4 separate regions of the Homo sapiens genome follow, and regions 1, 2 and 3 are each linked to region 4. The links are contacts of gene promoters, found by promoter capture Hi-C in blood cells and fetal thymus (Javierre and others, 2016). All regions are on one chromosome and are shown on one strand. The core of a region is centred on a gene start or on the middle of the fragment in contact, and the rest is flanking DNA. Distances in the headings are between cores, read along the strand shown. Region 1 overlaps COA8 (cytochrome c oxidase assembly factor 8). Region 2 holds the start of BAG5 (BAG cochaperone 5). Region 3 overlaps KLC1 (kinesin light chain 1). Region 4 holds the start of RD3L (RD3 like).

Region 1 (2,700 bases), core at 15-2,514, 350 kb before region 4:
TTATATCAGAGGTAGAAGTTGCAAGACTTTATCAACTTTTTTTTTTCTTTTTTTCTTTTTTTTTTTTTTTTTGAGACGGAGTTTCGCTCTCTCGCCCAGGCTGGAGTGCAGTGGCGCCATCTTGGCTCACTGCAAGCTCCGCCTCCTGGGTTCACGCCATTCTCCTGCCTCAGCCTCCCGAGTAGCTGGGACTACAGGCACCCGCCAGCACGCCTGGCTAATTTTTTGTATTTTTAGTAGAGACAGGGTTTCACCGTGTTAGGCAGGATGGTCTCAATCTCCTGACCTCGTGATCCGCCTGCCTTGGCCTCCCAAAGTGCTGGGATTACAGGCATGAGCCACTGCGCCTCGTCTATCAACTTTATTTTTTAAGTGACTGCAGTGGCTTAAAAAGATACCAATTTTTTTAGGTCGGGTGTGGTGGTTCACACCTGTAATCCCAGCACTTTAGGAGGCCAAGGTGGGCAGATCACCTGAGGTCAGGAGTTCAAGACCAGCCTGACCAACATGGAGAAACCCTGTCTCTACTAAAAATACAAAATTAGCCAGCTGCTCCGGAGGCTCAGTCAGGAGAATCGCTTGAACGTGGAAGGTGGAGGTTGCGGTGAGCTGAGATCGTGCCATTGCACTCCAGTCTGGGCAAGGAGAACAAAACTCCATCTCAAAAAAAAAAAAAAAAAAAAAAAACGGGTTTTAGCTGGTTACAGATAATAATGACCTGTATTTACAGGTGAAATTAATAGGACATGATATCTGAGATTTGCTTTAAAATATTTGTAGGCTGGATACGGTGGCTCGCACCTGGAATCCCATGACTTTGGGAGGCCAAGGTGGGTAGATCACTTGAGTCCAGGAGTTCAAGACCAGTCTGGGCAACATAGTGAAAGGCTTGAGCTAGGAGGACCACTTGAGCCTGGGAGGTTAAGGCTACAGTGAGCCGAGATCCGGCCACTGCATTCCAGCCTGGATGGCAGACAGAGTAAGACCCTGTCTCAATAAATAAATAAATAAGTAAGTAATTAAAAAAATATATATATATATATAAAACAGTTCCAGAGTTACAAAGCCTGATGGGCAGGTGAAGCCAGACTTCAAGAATGTCGACATGGGCCAGGCACGGTAGCTCACACCTGTACTCCCAGCACTTTGGGAGGCCAAGGCAGATGGATTGCTTGAGCCCAGGAGTTTGAGACCAGCCTGGACAACATGACAAAACCCTGTCTCTACAAAAAATACAAAAATTAGCTTGGTGTGGTAGTGTGCACCTGTAATCCCAGCTACAGGAGGCTGAGGCAGGAGGATCCCTTGAGCCCAGGAGGTGGAGGTTGCAGTGAGCCGAGATCCCGCTACTGCACTCCAGCCTGGGCTACAGAGTGAGACCCTAATAAAAAAAGAGAATATAGATACAGTCAAAGGCTGGATGGACTCAGTGAGGGACAGTCTGACCTAAAGATTAGTCCTGAAATATCTGGATTCCATTTCTAAGGTTGTCATGTATTACTCTGAATTAGTTAAGTCATTCAAACAAGCGAGTATAATCTTTCCCTGGTCTTTGGACACGTAGCTTGTTTGCACGGGGCACAGTCTCTGATGGGCTTCATGTTTTCTCTGTGGCACTCGGGTGAAGAGGACCAGCCTTACCCAAGATCAGGCCTTAGAGGAGCCTGGCCCCCACCACCACCTCCTGCCCCTGCCTTCCCTGTGGCAACAGCAGAAGTGTAGCTTGCTTTTACATGTCATAGAATCAGGTCGTCTGTATTAGTGAAATGGAATATGGCTTTTCCTTGAAGAACTGTAATCCCCATGGGCTACCGGTTTTCTTCTCCTGGAAGCGCTTATTTACTTTGGGCACTGCTCCTCATGACAGCATTGCTTAAGTAGGTGGAGGTGTAAAGGTGGTTTGCAGGTGGAGAGGAACTTTCTGTCCTGCCATGCAGAGCCTCCAGAGTGGTCGTGGCCCATCACATCCCTAAAATGCTGCCAGCTCGGCAGGCCTGGGGTTTCCAAGGGCTCTCTTGGATCTTTTAGCAAAAATCAAAGGAGTACTTAAGAGGCTGAGGCAGAAGAATTACTTGAACCCAGGAGGCAGAGGTTGCAATGAGCCAAGATTGTGCCACTGTACTCCAGCCTGGACAACTAAGCAAGATGAAAAAACAAAACAAAAAAAACTCCAAAGGAGGGGCCGGGTGCGGTGGCTCACACCTGTAATCCCAGAACTTTGGGAGGTTGAGGCAGGTGGGTCAGGAGATCGAAACCATCCTGGCTAACACGGTGAAACCCTGTCTCTACTAAAAAAAAAAAATACAAAAAATTAGCCGGGTGTGGTGGCGGGCGCCTGTAGTCCCAGCTACTCGGGAGGCTGAGGCAGGAGAATGGCGCGAACCCGGGAGGCGGAGCTTGCAGTCAGCCGAGATCGCGCCACTGCACTCCAGCCTGGGCGACAGACCGAGACTCCGTCTCAAAAAAAAAAAACACCAAAGGAGGATGGTGGCGGCCTCCAGAAACAGGGCTGGAGAGGACTCCAGGCGTCGCCAGTGGGCCTCACTCTCAGCCTGAGGAGAGGCAGGCCTCTATGAATAGTTTAGCTTTAACAAGGGCAGGGAAAGGGCAAAGCAGTTGAGGCCTGGTCAGTTGAACTCATCCTCAACTGGGAGCCACTTCTGGGCCAGGGCACCAAGCCTCAGTCCCTGCCACCGTGTC
Region 2 (2,700 bases), core at 126-2,625, 380 kb before region 4:
TAAAAAGGTATACTTCTGAGCAGTCATCCCACCTCAGCCTCCCCAGTAGCTGGGTCTACAGTCGTACACCACTACGCCCAGCTAATGTTATTTTTAGTAGAGACAGGTCTCACTATATTGCCCAGGCTGGTCTCAGACGATCCGCCCGCCTCCGCCTCCCAAAGTGCTGGGATTAAGGTGTGAGTCACCGTACGCGACACAAACTATTTGGAACCAGCAGGGCACCTTTATGAAAGGTGAAACAGTAGCTCTTGTAACCTTCCGAACACTAACAGTACCCCGCCCCGCCACACAGCTATGCCTAGTTTCCAGAAACTCTAAGCAAAAGAAAGAACCAGAACAAAAACCAGTGGCTCTCAGACATCCCCAAGGTCCCCGCTTCTTCGTTTCTCTCCATCCCTTTGTGCACTTCCCCTCCCCACCCTTTTAGCTCCTCACACATCTTCCCTCACAGAAGTCTCCCTGAAGAGATTAAAACCCCACAGGTAAAGAAGAGCGACCGGGACAGCGCTGAAGGGCACCACCTTGGGCTTTCGAGGCCCAACACCTCCTCAGCCCCCAACATGCTCCACTCTCTCAAAAAAAAACAACCCGCGAAAACGTGGTAACTATGAATAATTCATTCACTCGCCTCCCACTGGGAGTCCACAATGGCCTAATGCACGTTTCAAGCTCTTGGTTTCTATCAAACGGCTCGCTCAAGGTGGGTAACCAATGGAAACGCATAATCTATCCCCGGCGGATGTCCTGGAGGCCACGGAGGGAAGGCGGCCCGAGCTGCTTCCTCCCCGCCTCGCCCTTCCCTCTTGGCCCTTTACCCAAAAGAAGTCTGAATTGGATGCGGTCTTGGCGTCCCGTGGCTGAGGTGGCGAGGTGGAAGATCAGCCCTTTACGGGGTGCGGCACCGGAGCTGGGCCCCCAGCTGCATGCCTCGCACCCCTCCCGACTAGGTCTGAGCGGGGCAGCCGGTGAAGGGGCCGCTACTGGCTGCAGCAGCCGCTCCGGGCGTCTTGGCCCGGGTGCCAGGGCGCGCCTGCAGGACGTGACCTCACAATGGGCGCGCGAGGGGAGCTCGGCCCGGCCGGGGGAAGCCGGGGGAGGAGGGGAACCGAGGCCCGGCCGGAGACACCAGAGACCAGGCCCGGCCAGCCCCGGTCGCTTCCGACCCCAGGGGCGGGGACAGCGCCGAGACCGACTCTGCCCTGCCTGATCCGACAGGCCGCACGGGGCTGGGCGCTGGCGAAGGGGTGGCCCAGCGGGGAGCCCCGCGCGGAGGTGGTGCCCCACTCGTCCCCCCGAGAGAGGGAAAAGGCTACAAGCCGCGCTTCGCTCACCTGTCCCGCCCGCGCCATCGCGCGATGCGTCGCCGACGCTTCCACGACTTCCGCAGCTCCGGCAGTCGCCCGGGCCCGGCAGCCCCGCCCCTGGCCGAACACCCCTAAACCCGGGGACACCTCCTCCGGCGTCCGCGCCTAGCCGCCGGCAGCGCCACGCCCACCGCCAGCGGCGCAGCGAGGCAGCCTGGAGTGACCGCGACCAAGGAGCGGCCGCCCGGGTCAGCCCGCGCCGCCCGCCGCCCCCTCACCCCGTCGCACCGCTGGGAAAGCGCACGGTCGGCCGCGCCGCCGCGCTTCCTCGGGCTTCGCGACCCTGCCGTAAAGCGGCCCCTCGCGCCGTCGCAATGCTGCCGTGCGCCGCGGGAGCCAGGGGGCGTGGGGCCATGGTGGTCTTGCGGGCGGGGAAGAAGACCTTTCTCCCCCCTCTCTGCCGCGCCTTCGCCTGCCGCGGCTGTCAACTCGCTCCGGAGCGCGGCGCCGAGCGCAGGGATACGGCGCCCAGCGGGGTAAGCAGGGGCCTGGGGACATTGGGCCGGGAGGGGTGACCGGAAGGGAAGACAAACCCGGGCCTCGGGGCCACTCCCTGTTCTGCACAGCCGCCTCAGGCCTTTGTCCAGGTGCTCTCGCGTCCTATCCCGAACAGTCCCGCAGCCCCGAGGCTCCCGCATCAACGCCCTCAGTCGGATGGGACTGAGGGTGCCGCCGCCACCACGCCGGGGACTGTTGACAGCCAGAACCTTTAAGCGTAACAGAGTCACCTGGCAAGTTTGTACCTACCTTATTTGTTCCCGAGAATGATTATTTTTTATTTTTAAAGAGCTCTTGGCTTACCGTGCGTTTTTTTTCGTTGTGTGTGTGTGTGTTTTGGCTTTGTTACAATTATTAGTGCTTTTCTTCAAGCGGCGAGCACTTTATCATCGTACTTTTGTAGCACTTCACGTTGAATAGTTGTTATTTGCAAACTATGTGTGGGTATATGCATGTTACTGGCCAAAGATCCGCAAAGAATGTCTGTAGCAAGAATGTCTGTGGCAAGCAATTTTTATAAGTGGTACTTTTGGGAGGGATGTTTTGTTTAAGGGAGGCCTAGGCCTTGATTCCGTCTGTCAGATGAAAATGTTGACTAACGGTGTGGAATGGGCTGGAGATAAAATATTCAAGCAAAGCATGCAAATACCAAACAGGCTAATGAAGGAGGCTGGAAAACTTGGTTTAAACAATAATTAAAGAAGTATTAAAAAAGTGTTAATTAAAAATTGGACGGGCTCCGTGGCTCACGCTTGTAATCCCAGCACTTTGGGAGGCCGAGGCAAGCGGATCACGAAATCAAGAGGTGAGACCATCCTGCCCAACATGGTGAAAC
Region 3 (2,819 bases), core at 272-2,771, 290 kb before region 4:
TCCTTGATGCCCTGTGTCTTCCAGGTCTGCTCCTCCCCTGCTGCTCTTCCTGTTCCATGTTCTTTGGCTGGTTTTTCTTTCTTCTTCCAGCTGTGTGACTCCTTTTCAAGCCTTTGTCCAGTTAAACATTTTACCAAGAATGTAGTGTTCTTCCTGCATTTCATTAGGAAGAGAAAAAGGCTTGCAAACATTCTGAGAAAAAATGTTGTTCACCGAGGCTATGTGTTTTGGAAATGCCATTTAGATGTTTTGCTGCTTTTAATCTTTGGCATTAATTTCAGTTGCTGTCATAAAAAAGAATTAAGACATAAACCAGAAAAGTAATTAAATGTGTCTGCAAAGGAAAAACAGAAACTGCAGAATATGGTATTTCAAGGTCATAAATTACAAATGTGCATATTTATTATTCCCCTATAAAATGTTAATTAAAAAATTTTCATATTTACTTGATGTAACAGAAATGAAACCTGTAATGAGGGATCTAATTTCTTTTTCTTTTTTCATTCCAGAATGTATGACAACATGTCCACAATGGTGTACATAAAGGAAGACAAGTTGGAGAAGCTTACACAGGATGAAATTATTTCTAAGACAAAGCAAGTAATTCAGGGGCTGGAAGCTTTGAAGAATGAGCACAATTCCATTTTACAAAGTTTGCTGGAGACACTGAAGTGTTTGAAGAAAGATGATGAAAGTAATTTGGTGGAGGAGAAATCAAACATGATCCGGAAGTCACTGGAGATGTTGGAGCTCGGCCTGAGTGAGGCACAGGTACGAGTGAGAATGACTCAGACGTTATCAGGAACTTTTGATGGTAAAATGGAGACTTGTTTGAAATAAGCAGTTTCACTAAAGAAGAGGAAAGATGATTATAGAATAACAGATCCAGGCCGAGTGCGGTGTGGCTCAGGCCTGTAATCCAAGCACTTTGGGAGGCTGAGGCAGGTGGATCACTTGAGGTCAGGAGTTTGAGACCAGCCTGGCCAACATAGCGAAACCCTGACTCTACTAAAAATACAAAAATTAGCCGGGCCTGGTGGCTGGCGTGTGTAATCCAGCTACTAGGCAGGCTTGAGGCAGGAGAATCACTTGAACCTGGGAGGCAGAGGTTGCAGGGAGCCAAAATTGCATCACTGCACTCCAGCCTGGGTGACAGAGCGAGACTTTTTCTCAAAGAAAAAACAAAACAAAACAGATCATGTGTTCTGTATGTTAATAAATTACTATTGATTTGGGCCTATCAGAATTGTATTGATTGATTGATTGAGATGGAGTTTTGCTCTTGCTGCCCAGGCTGGAGTGCAGTGATGCAGTCTCGGCTCACTGCATCCTCTGCCTCCTGGGCTCAAATGATTCTCCTGCCTCAGCCTCCCAAGTAGCTGGGATTACAGGCATGGGCCACCACACCTGGCTAATTTTGTATTTTTAGTAGAGACAGGGTTTCTCCATGTTGGTTAGGCTGGTCTTGAACTCCCAACCTCACGTGATCCACCTGCCTCAGCAAAGTGTTGGGATTACAGGCGCGAGCCACCATGCCCGGCCTCTGAATTTTATTTTTATTTTTATTTTTTTGAGACAGTGTTTGCTCTCGCCGCCCAGGCTGGAGTGCAATGGCTCAATCTCAGATCACTGCAACCTCTGTCCCCCGGGTTCAAGTGATTCTCCTGCCTCAGCCTCCCAAGTAGCTGGGATTACAGGCACATACCACCATTCCTGGCTAATTTTTTGTATTTTTAGTAGAAACTAAAATGTTGGCCAGGCTGGTCTTGAACTCCTGACCTCAGGGCCTCTCTGAATTTTGAAAAGCGGATCCAAAATAGTGGATACTGCTGTGTATCATTTAGGATTTGATTTGGCTGCCAGTATCAAAAAAACAAAAACAGTGGCTTAAACCACAAGATGTTTGTCAAATAAGTACTGAGGTACACTCTCCTGGACGGGTTCTGTAGCTACACAGTCATCGGGGATACTCAGGTTCCTAACATCTGCCACACTGCACCTTGGCAGCCTGTCTTGGGGACTGAGAGTGAGCTCCATGTGGCCCTGTTCTAGCATAGGGGAAGGGAAAGGAAGGACGTGCCTCCTTCCTTGAAGGCTGCTGCTTTGATGATGTGTACAGCAGTGCTTACATTGCATTGGCCAGACCTTATGGCTGTACCTGGGTGAGTGGGAGACTGGGGAATGTTGTCTTCCCACTTACAGTGGCAGGTCCTTAAGCCTAAGGAAGGAGAATGGACACTGGCCAGTGGGTGATGGTCTCTGCAATCCCAGGGCCAGATTGCTTCATATCTTTGACTAACCTTTGTTTCTATAATATCATGCTTGACATAGAGATGAAAACACTGGAAACATCTAGGTTTTTAAATACTCTCTCCTGATAACTTCTGGCTCTGTCAGCATATCTTAGGTAAAATTAAATATACCAAAGCTTTGCTTCTTTCTTAGCATTCTCTAGTTTAGTGAGTGAATAGAGCAGAAGAGGGGCTGCTGGCCAGCGGTTTCTGCTTTCATAGAGGAAGTGACTGCCCACACCCTGATTTTAGAGTCTTCATCCTAACCATGTTACAGCCTTGAGTTGCAGAACTGTAGCTCTGTTTGGATATTGTGAACGTATTATTTCTCAAGTTCTGTTACCTTGAGAACAGGTGACATGAATTTAAACTTGCTTTTTTGGTGTCGCAGATAAGAGTTTTAAAAAAAGAAGGAAGAAAAGGTCCCACCTTCTGGAGTTTCAGGTTTTAAACCTAGGAGGATAATAACCTGGTTATTATGTTATGAGAGGGATGGGCAGATGTATGTTCTAAAGAGAGAACAGATTG
Region 4 (2,700 bases), core at 103-2,602:
TTGAATAATGTATACAAGTTACCCACCTTTTGAGTATTTTGCATGTTGTTTTAAAATTATGCTTCTAGTAAAGAAATTTTAAATGTAATTTAAAACAATTGCTCACCAGACATCTACACAGTTAAAGAATTTACATGATAGAATACAGTTTCTAGTCAAAATATATGAGGAACTTGGACTTAGCAGTAGCAGGAATCATAAGAGAACATAGTATTTTTACCTGCTGAGAATAGTTCCAGTTTGGCAAGGTTGAACTTGTGAGCAAAGAACTTCAAGTTGTCTTTGTTCAGTCACTGGGATAGTTGTGTGGGGATTCTGGTAGTTTCTGAGCCAGTTGTAATCCACACCTGTTTTTTTCACTTTTTGTTCATTTTCGATTTCTTGTATTAATCTCTCTCGCTCCTTTAGGTGCCATTTTAATTCCCGAAGCAGAGTCTTTGTCACTATGTCTGAGCCAGGATAGTGTGTGGGTTTGTAGGAATCGTTTTTGGGCCATTTCATCCAGCCAAAAAGTGGCATTTTTAGCCTATGGAAATATTTTCACTTGTTTATTTGCTCAAAATGTTATGTTCTTCTGAGCAAATATTTGTTTCTTTACAATAAATTTGCCCGAAAAGTGCACGATTTTTTTTCACATTTAGCTATGCAGGTCAAAATAAGATTAGAACATGGATTAACGTCTTAATTTTTAACTAGGTCAGTGGCAGAAACCAAGCTTTGAAAATGCTTTTATGTAGCTTAGCAGAAATTAGATATACAAAGTCAGAGATAACATATAGACTGAATGATATCCGAAAATAACACTAACACTTGCTGTGAAAAGTTCTTAAGAGACTTAAAATATTAATGTCGGGGCAAGTGCTGCCTACAGATACTTTTGATTTATGTTTTGGACAGAAAAGGTTTAAAGCTTACCTGTTAAGTTGATGGGCTGATGTGATGTTGCCAAAGAGTTGACTGAAGTTGGTGACGAAGCTGTGTTTCACTGGGACGTATCTTGCTCTCCTAGGTGTGTCCTCTGTAGAAGGAATGCGCCACCTTATTTACCCACCGAAACTGTATTTGAAATAAATAACTTTCTGTGTTAGGAATGAGGCTGTGATGTCTTCATTTGGAGAGAATGCTCATTAATTCACCTTGTAAGTAAGCTAGAAGAAATGACAAAAATAACTGACTATTTAATCTTCACAAGTTATATAATGGTCTGCCTTTTCAATGTAGCTCAGTCTATTTGAAAAAAATGCCAGCAGCTATAGATGCTGGTCCTAAATGCATTCCGACATGTCTTTGGTAGTGAAACGAAGAATGGTCGTCTAAAGCACCATAGATGCGCTCCGAGCTAGAGTGAAGACTGTCGCGTGATGTGATGCTTTGCTGTGCATAGCTGTAGGTCACAGTTTAGTGCTGTATTTTTATGCCTGTAGAGCTCTAAAAATAGCCACGTTGCTTTTATTCTTCAGCTTAACTTTCAGGCCATTTGGAAGCCGGGTCACTGTCCCCTCTAGTGAAAACAGGAAAAATAGATTAGACTTGACTATTTGCAAAACATACATTCTGAGAAAACTCATTGTAATTGAGTGAAATAGGTAAAGAATGCTGATGTGAATTATAATTGTGAAATATTTAGCAAATGTTACATTTTGTATTCATTTTGGTTTTTTCAAAATAGTTAAATTTGTATATTTAAGCAAGTTGAAATGCTAGGGGACATAATAAACAGCTAGATAACTTTAAAATATACTTTATAATCTCTGAAAATATGGTAATAAGGCAGTAATTGGTTGTCAGGGAAAAATAGAGGCATAAGAACATACAAAATTCTAAACAAAATCTTATAATTCATCGTAGAAAAATCATTTTCGTGTTTTTTTTTTGGAGCTGAGGATGAAAAACTTATATTTACTATTTAGGTGCATATTGGTTTGTAATGGTCATTATTGTGCTATTTCTTTTTTCTTTCTTTCTTTTTTTTGAGACAGAGTCACGTTGTGTCACCCAGGCTGTAGTGCAGTGGCATGATCACGGCTCACTGTAGCCTCGACCTCCTGGGCTCAAGTGATCCTCCCACCTCAGCCCCCTGAATAGCCAGGACCATAGGTGCATGCCACCACAGGTGCATGCTACGGCATGCCTGGCTAGTTTAAAAAAATATATACACACGCACATATGTACATACATATATGTTTTATATATGTACATATGTGTATGTATTTTATATATGTACATATATGTATATATACACATAAGTATATATACGCATATGTATATGTATTATATATGTATATATAAATATACACACATATATAATACACACATATATACACACACACATACATTTCTTTTTTTTTTTTTTTTGTAGAAATAAGGTCTCCCTGTGTTGCCCAGGCTGGTCCGTAAACTGGGCTCAAGTAATCCACCTGCCTCAGCCTCCCAAAGTGCTGGGATTACAGGCATGAGCCACTGCGCTGGCCTGTGCTAATTTCCTATGCAAGTGTTTGTCTTTTGCTAAAGAGTAGATAGTATAAAAGGTCTTTTACTCCCCAGTTCTCTGTGAAACGACTGCATAGTGGTTTTCCCTTTTATAGTATTTGTTTCTTCTGTTGCTTTTCCTTTCAAGTGAGCCATGAAGAGTAGACGTTGTTTACATCAGACTTGCATGTCATGCATGACCCAGAGTGACGTGTGTGGCCACCCTACAGC

The links. Contacts are between HindIII fragments. The CHiCAGO score rates a contact against its expected background, and 5 or more counts as called.
Region 1: a contact is called between a fragment that was not itself captured here and the fragment with the promoter of RD3L in region 4, in 1 of 17 cell types (M2 macrophages). The highest score is 6.5, in M2 macrophages.
Region 2: a contact is called between the fragment with the promoter of BAG5 here and the fragment with the promoter of RD3L in region 4, in 8 of 17 cell types (naive CD8 T cells, erythroblasts, non-activated CD4 T cells and 5 more). The highest score is 14.0, in naive CD8 T cells.
Region 3: a fragment that was not itself captured here is called in contact with the fragment with the promoter of RD3L in region 4 in 1 of 17 cell types (M2 macrophages); the score reaches 5.1 in M2 macrophages.

What each region holds. Positions count from the first base shown.
Region 1 is chr14:103,587,454-103,590,153 of GRCh38, forward strand. The region is part of intron 4 of COA8 (cytochrome c oxidase assembly factor 8); the gene reads left to right. Among named protein-coding and RNA genes, the nearest start is that of COA8, 26 kb to the left of the region's middle. RefSeq lists a silencer at 1,067-1,241. The HindIII fragment of the contact is 3,067 bases long and covers 1-2,700 here.
Region 2 is chr14:103,561,282-103,563,981 of GRCh38, forward strand. BAG5 (BAG cochaperone 5) reads right to left here and starts at 1,376. Exons shown (of 2, transcript NM_001015048.3): 1 at 1,335-1,376. COA8 (cytochrome c oxidase assembly factor 8) reads left to right here and starts at 1,679. Exons shown (of 5, transcript NM_001370595.2): 1 at 1,679-1,843. The coding sequence starts at 1,721. RefSeq lists enhancers at 1-494, 594-643 and a silencer at 984-1,633. The HindIII fragment of the contact is 16,544 bases long and covers 1-2,700 here.
Region 3 is chr14:103,654,055-103,656,873 of GRCh38, forward strand. It overlaps KLC1 (kinesin light chain 1), which reads left to right. Exons shown (of 17, transcript NM_001394837.1): 2 at 510-771. The coding sequence starts at 511. Among named protein-coding and RNA genes, the nearest start is that of KLC1, 26 kb to the left of the region's middle. The HindIII fragment of the contact is 1,809 bases long and covers 618-2,426 here.
Region 4 is chr14:103,941,177-103,943,876 of GRCh38, forward strand. RD3L (RD3 like) reads right to left here and starts at 1,353. Exons shown (of 3, transcript NM_001257268.2): 1 at 916-1,353; 2 at 221-526. The coding sequence starts at 519. The region is part of intron 1 of TDRD9 (tudor domain containing 9); the gene reads left to right. The HindIII fragment of the contact is 3,550 bases long and covers 909-2,700 here.